2 separate regions of the Homo sapiens genome follow, and region 2 is linked to region 1. The links are contacts of gene promoters, found by promoter capture Hi-C in blood cells and fetal thymus (Javierre and others, 2016). All regions are on one chromosome and are shown on one strand. The core of a region is centred on a gene start or on the middle of the fragment in contact, and the rest is flanking DNA. Distances in the headings are between cores, read along the strand shown.

Region 1 (4,453 bases), core at 1,628-4,127:
CTTGGATGGTCGTCTCTACAAGCTCCCAAAGGAAAACACCCATGTGGTTTTTGCCTGCTTGAGGTAAATACCACCTTAGGCCAACTACCCCATCTGTAAACTGGGAATAACACCAGATTGCAGGGATGTTGAGGAGGGTTAATTATATACAGAGTGTCTAAGGGTTGAGCAGATACACAAGTGCTCTGGAAGTTCTTGGCATAATACTATAGCATTACAATAATTCTGGCTTGCAAATTATACCCCAGCAGAGGTATCACATGGAAAAGTGGATCCGACTCTACGGCCTGATGAAAGTGACATGGAAAAAATAAGTTATGAAATATAACTTCTCTTCCTGAACTTTTGGAAAAGGCAGAGATAACCTTTCCATGTGCAAGACACATGCAGGGAGCAAGCTTCCAGATTCTGGTGAGGACTTTCTTGTCTCAGGTGGCCTGGCCTATTGCCAGGATCTGAGCCCAGAAGTAGAAATGGGAAGGAAGGGAGCTGGGGAGGATTTGTGGTTGGATGAAAGGTGGGGCTTAAAACAAGGATGTCCTTGCCTTTCAGGTTTTCTACTGGGGCCTCCTTACGTGCAAGATAATTAAGTGCCAATGCGACAGAGGAACAATTTAAAGGGTAACGGAGATACTTAAGTCTAGGTATATTCAAAATAAACATCCTAGCCAGGTCAACTTCTGGGTCCTCTCTGCATGCCCCAGACACATCACATCTCTCTCTCTCTCTCTCTCTCTCTCTCTCTCTCTCTCACACACACACACACACACACACACACACACATCCCTTAGATTATTTCCTGTGAAATGCTAAGTAAATAGATCTCAGGCAATGAAGATGCTCTGTAGCTGGTGATAGTATCTGCGACTGTGAGACGTCACATAGTGGGTTTGGAAAATTCAACTGGCCACAGAGGATGACAGTTTTGTCTGACCAAGGAGGGAAAGGGCAAATAGCTTGATTCTGGAATAACAAATTTGAAGTCAATTTCACTTTACCACTGTGTATGGCTGAGCAGACAGAGGTCAGCTTCAGGATAAGACCGAGTTCAAGTCCTGCTTCTATCACTTCTGTGCTGTGGCCTCAGGCATGAGTCTGGGTGGGTTACAGAGAGGAAGCAGTAACAGCTCTCAGGCCTTCCCTGTCCAAATGTCTCAGATTGAAATCTGAGTTTGACCTCTACTTCCAGCGTGGCCAGAACTATGATGTGATCAAAAGAGCCCCTGGCCTTGCTGTCTGCCCTCACAGTTCCCACTGTTACTACAGGATATGGGAAAAACAGACTCCCCCAAAGCACATCTATAACAGACAGACAGCAAATGCAGATTATTGATTTGGGCTATTGTTTTAGTAAATCAACATTCTTAGAGAATTTCTCAGCTCTCAGGTGCCCACATCTTAGAGTTAAGTCACATTTTGAGGGTTGCCCAGGCAAATTCAAAGCAGCACCAGGCCCTAGTGGCAGCTACTTCATCTTTAGGCAGCATTTCCCTCTCAACAGGGAGCATGCCACCTCCCCTGGGTGCAGATCCCAGGAAAAGTTACACTGACCAAATCAGGCCACTCCCTGGGACTGTTTCCTCAATTTTGGTTAATAATCAAAGGATGATCTGAAATCGCAAAGAAGAGACTCTTGGAAAAGACATAATTATGGTGCCACCCGACTTAGGAACTGGCATCCAAGTCCACCTGTGTGACTTTCCTCTGGGCCTCAGTTTCTCCATCTGTAAAATGAGGTCCTGTATTTATTTTTTGAGACGGAATCTCCCTCTGTCGCCCAGGCTGGAGTGAAGTGGTGTGATCTCGGCTCACTGCAACCTCTGCCTCCCAGGTTCAAGCAATTCTCTGCCTCAGCCTTCCGAGTAGCTGCTGGGATTACAGGTACCCGCCACCACACCCGGCTAATTTTTGTATTTTTAGTAGAGACGGGGTTTCACCATCTTGGCCAGGCTGGTATTAAACTCCTGACCTCGTGATCCACCCGCCTCGGCCTCCCAAAGTGCTGGGATTACAGGCGTGAGACACCGCACCCGGCCGAGGTCCTGTATTAAATGGATCCTTGCCAGCTCCTACAACATAAGGCATTAAATGTTCCCACAACTTGCTCCCCGCCGGCTGGCAGCGAACAGGGCTAAAGCCTCGACTTCCTCAGAGGTGAAAAGGTAAGCAAACATTCCGACCTCCCCTAGCCTTGCTCTCGGATTGGTGCTGGGCCCGGCTCCCACCGCCTATCCCGACCACATCCGTCATCTGGACTGCTAATACACTCATTAGCATAAAGATTCCTCCGAAGACCTGGCGCACGGGGCTGAACCGGAGTCTGTCCCTTTAAGGAAGAGGGACAGCCACTCTGTCCCTAAGGGCACTAGGCACTGCATTTCCTCCACACGGGCCACGCTGTAAACTAGACAGGTTCCGTGTTAATCCACTCTCCCTCCTCAACCCCGACAGGGGGATCCCTGGAGTGAACAACGCGCGGGGTCCCGGGGGACTGCGGAAAGGTTTGGCCTCTGCGCGTAGCAGGCTCCGCCAGGCAACCTCTCGCCCGAGGCGGCGGCGAGCTGCAAGCTAGGTGGAGCCGGCTGCGCGGCGGGACCCCAGCGCCCTGGGGCAAGACCCTGGTGCTGGCGCCAGGGCAGCCGCGGGAGGTGGCGTGTGCAGGAGCGGAGAGGTGCGCCCACCCCGGCCCCGGGCGCGAGGGGGGCGGGGCTTGGGCCGCGGCCCGGGGCCAGGCTCGCGGGGATGGGCGGTGCTGGGTCTGCGGGAGCGGGCGGGGGGCGGGGCGCGCGAGCGGGCTCCGGGGGGGCGGGGCGGCGGCGCGGGGCGGGCTCTGGCGGCCTGAGTGTCACACACGCGGCGGCTCGGGAGGCGGCGGCAGTGGCAGCGACAGGCGCCGCCGGGACGGGCACGGGCGCGCGGGCTCCGGCGGGCGCCGGCTGCCTTCCTCCGTCGCTCGCTGTCTCTCCCGGCCGCATTCTCCTCCGCTGCGGGGCCGAGCTCTCCCCAGCGCTCGCAGGAAGGAAGAAGGGAGCCGAGGACGCCGAGAAGTTCCCGCGGCAGCCGCGGATCCCGGCCAAGGCGGAGGCTGCGGCTCCGACGGGGCAGGAGCGCGATCCACGGCGAGGGGCGTACGGCCAAAGGGTCCGCGGCGTGGAGCGCTCGGACCTTCCGCTCTCCCCCGGGCGTGGGCCGGGACCCCATGAGACGCGCCCACGAGGGGCGCGAGATTCCTAGCTTGGGCGGCGCTAGGCGGAGGGAGGTGTTGCAGCCGCCGGAGCCAGAGAGCTGCCGGCAGGAGGCGGCGGCGGCAAGAACTTGAACTTGGCGTCGGGAGCGGGCGCCCCGGACGCCCCCCGCCGGGGCCGGGGCGCCGAGGGACCTGCGCCGCAGCGCTGCCCCCCGAATGGCCGCGGCGGCGGACCGGGCTCCCGCGCCGCGGCCCTAGGCGGCCTCTCGCCATGGCCAAGTGGCTAAACAAGTACTTCAGCTTGGGCAACAGCAAGACCAAGAGCCCCCCGCAGCCGCCGCGGCCAGACTACCGCGAGCAGCGGCGCCGAGGCGAGCGGCCTTCGCAGCCCCCCCAGGCCGTGCCGCAGGCCTCCTCCGCCGCCTCGGCGTCCTGCGGTCCGGCCACCGCCTCCTGCTTCTCAGCCTCTTCGGGCTCGCTGCCCGACGACAGCGGCAGCACCAGCGACCTCATCCGCGCCTACCGCGCGCAGAAGGAGCGAGACTTCGAGGACCCCTACAACGGGCCTGGCTCGTCGCTGCGCAAACTGCGCGCCATGTGCCGCCTGGACTACTGCGGCGGCAGCGGGGAGCCAGGCGGGGTCCAGCGCGCCTTCTCGGCCTCGTCCGCGTCGGGCGCCGCGGGCTGTTGCTGCGCCTCCTCGGGCGCGGGGGCCGCCGCGTCCTCGTCCTCGTCCTCCGGCTCTCCGCATCTCTACCGCAGCAGCAGCGAGCGGCGGCCCGCCACGCCGGCCGAGGTGCGCTACATCTCCCCCAAGCACCGCCTCATCAAAGTGGAGAGCGCCGCGGGCGGTGGGGCCGGGGACCCCCTGGGGGGCGCCTGCGCGGGCGGCCGCACCTGGAGCCCGACGGCCTGCGGAGGCAAGAAACTGCTCAACAAGTGCGCCGCCTCAGCCGCGGAGGAGAGCGGGGCCGGCAAGAAGGACAAGGTAAGGTGCCCCTTGGCCTCTTCCCGAGGTTCCAGAGCCACGGTGCGCACGGGGAAACCGAGGCACCCGCCGCTCTGGTGTTGAGTCTCTACTTCAGCTTCGGCCTAGGACCCTGGGTCGGGGCTGGCGTGCTGCTTCCCGCTTCTGCCTCCTCCCGCGCCCTTTTCCTGGGACCGGCGGCCTCCTGACCCCACCTCTTTCGCCGCTGCTTCCAGAACGTCCCCTCTGAGCGAGAGCGCCCGGCCCAGCCTTGCCCCAGGAAGACGGACCCAGTCAGT
Region 2 (4,334 bases), core at 70-2,569, 260 kb after region 1:
TTACCTTCTTTGGGTATAATTTGTTGTTCTGTTTCAAAGTTCTTGAGATGGATGCTTACTTAGCTTATTGACAATTCAGCCTTTCTTCTTTTCTAATATCTGCATTTAAGGATCTAAGATTTTCCTCTATACATGGCTTCAGCTGCAATTGCACAAATTTTGATAGTGTTTTCATCATTCAGTTTCAAATATTTTATAATTTATACTGTGATTTCTTCTTTGACTCACAAGTTATTTAAAAGAGCATTTCCAAAAATAAAGAGATTTTCTAGTTATTTATTTCCTGAACTTTCATTGAAAAACAAACTGCTTAATCTCAATGCTTGGAAATTGTATGAATTTGTTTTTTGTGTTGTCTGATATTAACATAACACACCAACTTTCATTTAGCTAATGCTAGCAGTGGTATGCCTTGACATCCTTTTACTTTAAAACTTTGTGTATCCTTACATTTCAGGTATGTCTTCTGTAAGCAGTTTTTAAAAATCTGATCTGACAATCATTGTCTCAGTCAAATTACATTTAATGTAACTACTAGCAATCTTTGAGTTGAAATCTGTCACCAGAGAATTTACTTTCCATTTGTCCTGTCTGTTCTATGTCCCTTTTCAGTTGCTTTAAACATTTTTTTGGCCAGGCACATTGGCCCATGCCTGTAATCCTAGTGTTTTAGGAGTCCAAGGCAGGAGGATAGCTTGTGGCCAGGAGTTGGAGATCAGCCTGGACAACATGTGGAGACCCTATCTCTATAAAAAAATAAAATGGCCAGGCATAGTGGCTTATGGCTGCAGTCCTAGCTGCCCAGGAGACAGGCGGGAGGATTGCTTGAGCCCAGGAGTTGGAGGTTGCCGTGAGCTGTGACAGCACCAATGAACTCCAGCCTGGGCAACAGTGCAAGATCCCATCTCTAAGAATATATATACATTTGCTATTGATATCTCCCCATATGCTATTTAGTATGTTAAATATATTTTTACTCTTCTTTTAGCGAATACCTAAAGAGCTAACATCATGCATCAACTTTTTAAAGTGAAGTACGTAATTATTACTTCCTGGATGATGCAAGAACCTTAGCTCACTTCAACTTCCTTTATCCCATCCTAATATTTAATTTTTTAGATATAATTATATATAAATTTAATGCTCTACTAAAATTTTTCATGTTTTATACCATTCCCAGCCTGGACAACAAACTGAGACCCTTGTCTCTACAAAAAATAAAAAAATTAGCCAGCCATGCTGGCGTGTGCCTGTGGTCCCAGCTACACAAAAGGCAGAGGCAAGAGGATTACTTGAGCCCAGGAAGTCAAGGCTGCAGTGAGCAGTGTTCATGCCACTGCACTCCAGCTTGGATGACAGAGAGAGACTCTGTCTAAAAAAATGAAAAAAAAGTTCACATTCATTTTGATTTACACGCATATTTATTTTTGTTCTTTTCATTCTTTCCTGTACCTCTGATCTTCCACCTTTTTCCTTCCTCCTAAAGAATAATTTTGTTACCTGTTTCTGTGTAGATCTGATAGTGGCAAATTCTCTCAATATTTGTCTGGAAATATCTTTGTCTCTTGACTTCCATTGTTTCTGCAGTGAACTTAGCTCTCTTTTTGAGCCTCCTTTGAAAGTAATCTATCTCTTTCCTCTAGCTGCTTTTAAGATTTTCTTTGTCTTTGTGCATGTATGTTTTATTTTAGTTTTAGCAGCTTTACTCTTGTAGCTAAGTGTGGCTTTATATTTCTGTCTTTTTTTCTTCTTTTTTTTGTTGTTTGTTTTTGAAGAAGTTGGTAGGGATTTTTGTTTTTGTTTTTAAAGCAGTTGGAAGGTTTTTTTTTTGTTTTTGAAGCAGTTTTGTTTCAGAAGGTTTGGAGTGTGGTGGCGCTGGAATGCAGTGGCGCAATCTCAGCTCACTGCAGCCTTGACCTCCCAGATTCAAGTGATCCTCCTTCTTCAGCCTCCTGAGTAGCTGGGACCACAGGCGCATGCCACCACACCCGGCTAATTTTTTTGTAGAGTCAGGGTTTTGCCATGTTGGCCGGGCTGGTCTCAAACTCCTGAGCTCAAGAGATCCAACTACCTCAGCCTCCATAAGTGCTGGGATTACAGGGGTGCGCCACCATGCCTGGCCTGCTTTTTTTGTCTTTCTCTTGCTTGAGATGTATAGCCTTTCTTGAATCTACAATGTCTTTTGTTAATTTTTAAAATTGTCATCCATTATCTGTTCAAATATTGATTTATCTTCATTCTCTTTAATATCTTTCTGAAACTCCATTTATATTTATAAGATCTTTTCCCTGTATCTTATGACATATCTTAATCTCTATGTCCCATTTTGGTAAATCTGAACTTTATTCTGTATATTTTTTTCTCATCTATTCTCAAGCTCACAAATCCTTCAGCTGTGTCCAGTTTGCTGTTAAATCATCCAGTGAGTTTTTATCAGTTACTGTACTTTTTAGTTCTAGGGTTTTCTTTTTTTAGCTTCTAGTTCTCTGCTAAATTTCTCCATCTTATAATTCCTTGAACATATTAAATAGTTTTAATGTCAGATCTCCTGTGGGTCTATTTCTATTGTTTGCTGATTTTCTTGGTTTTTCAGACAACGAATCTCTTTGTACTAGTGCTCGTCACTGTATACAAAAATTATAGGGATAATTTAAAGCACTGGATGATATATTATATTTTTAAAAAAATTTCTTTAGAGACAGGGTCTTGCTTGGTCACCCAGGCTGAAGTGTAGTGATGTGATTATAGCTCACTGTAACCTCAAACGCCTGGGCTTAAACAATCCTCCCACCTCAGCCTCCAGAGTAGCTAGTATGGCAGGCGCACACCACCTTGCCCAGCTAATTTTTAGATTTTTTGCAGATATGGGATCTCTCACTATGTTGCTCAGACTGGTCTCCAACTCCTGGCCTCAATTAATCTTCCCTCCTCAGCCTCCCAAAGAACTTGGATTAAAGGTGTAAGCCACGGCACTCAGCTGCATATTTTCTTCTTCCATAGAAGATTCATCTTTAATTATGGCAAGTAAGCTAGAGTAGAGGTGCCGGCAATCTGAGGTCTTCTTAATCTACGTAGGGAATGAGATTATTTGAAGCTGGCCTTTAGTCCCCATGAGTACTGTCGATTCTGGATTCACCTTTAGTCCTAGGGTATACTGGGTGAGGGGAGGGGAGTTTCAATCCCAAACCTAAATTGCGGATCCTAAATTGCAATTCTTGTAATCTCATCTATCCCACCCATGAGTCCATTAGAAATACCATTCAGAGGCCAGGCGCAGTGGCTCAAGCCTGTAATCCCAGCACTTTGGGAGGCCGAGGCAGACAGATCACCTGAGGTCAGGAGGTCGAGACCAGCCTGACCAACATGGAGAAAGCCCGTTTCTACTAAAAATACAAAAATTAGCCGGGCGTGGTGGCAGGCGCCTATAATCCTAGCTAATCCAGAGACTGAGGCAGGAGAATCGCTTGAACCCGGGAGGCAGAGGTTGCAATGAGCCAAGATTGCGCCATTGCGCTCCAGCCTGGGCAACAACAGTGAATGAAACTCTGTCTCAAAAAAAAAAAGAAAGAAAGAAAGAAAGAAATACCATTCAGCCTCATTGCTGCTGCTGCTTTTGAGATTGACAGATGTCTCTCAGAGAAGCGAGCTCAAATGCTGGGCTCACATCACTGGCTTTCCTATTTTTTAGAACTTGACCCTGCAATTTCTTCATTTCCCTGATAATGCTCTAATCCCCTCACACATAAGCTTTCTATATCTTACATTAAATATTTAATATTTTCTCTAGCTTTTCTGATTATTCTCAGTTGGAAGTTTGGTCCAAACAATCTACCTCTTGCATATAAAATTGTCCCCCCAACTTTTTTTTTTTTTTAAGATGGAGTTTCGCTCTCGTTGCCCAGGCTGGAGTGCAGTGGCGCAATCTCAGCTCACTGCAACCTCCGCCTCCCAGGTTCAAGTGATTCTCCTGTCTCAGCCTCCTGAGTGGCTGGGATTACAGGCGTTTGCCACCATGCCCAGCTACTTTTTTGTATTTTTAGTAGAGATGGGGTTTCACCATGTTAGCCAGGCTGGTCTCAAACTCCTGACCTCAGGTGATCCAGCCGCCTTGGCCTCCCAAAATGCTGGGATTACAGGCGTGAGCCACCGCGCACGGCCGCCCCGCTCCCCCTAACCCTTTTATTTTTTTAATTTGAGACAGAGTTTCGCTCTTTTGCCCAGGCTGGAGTGAAGTGGCACAGTCTTGGCTCACTGCAACCTCCGCCCCTCGGGTTCAAGCGATTCTCCTGCCTCAGCCTCCGGAGTAGCCGGGATTATAGGCGCCCACCACCATG

The links. Contacts are between HindIII fragments. The CHiCAGO score rates a contact against its expected background, and 5 or more counts as called.
Region 2: a fragment that was not itself captured here is called in contact with the fragment with the promoter of SHB in region 1 in 2 of 17 cell types (monocytes and neutrophils); the score reaches 6.7 in monocytes.

What each region holds. Positions count from the first base shown.
Region 1 is chr9:38,067,651-38,072,103 of GRCh38, reverse strand. It overlaps SHB (SH2 domain containing adaptor protein B), which reads left to right and starts at 2,877. Exons shown (of 6, transcript NM_003028.3): 1 at 2,877-4,175. The coding sequence starts at 3,459. LOC105376039 (a long non-coding RNA gene) reads left to right here. Exons shown (of 4, transcript XR_007061483.1): 3 at 1-63; 4 at 553-677. RefSeq lists silencers at 2,467-3,276, 3,697-3,746 and an enhancer at 3,637-4,440. The HindIII fragment of the contact is 5,108 bases long and covers 401-4,453 here.
Region 2 is chr9:37,809,693-37,814,026 of GRCh38, reverse strand. The region is part of intron 1 of DCAF10 (DDB1 and CUL4 associated factor 10); the gene reads right to left. Among named protein-coding and RNA genes, the nearest start is that of DCAF10, 11 kb to the right of the region's middle. The HindIII fragment of the contact is 4,860 bases long and covers 1-3,749 here.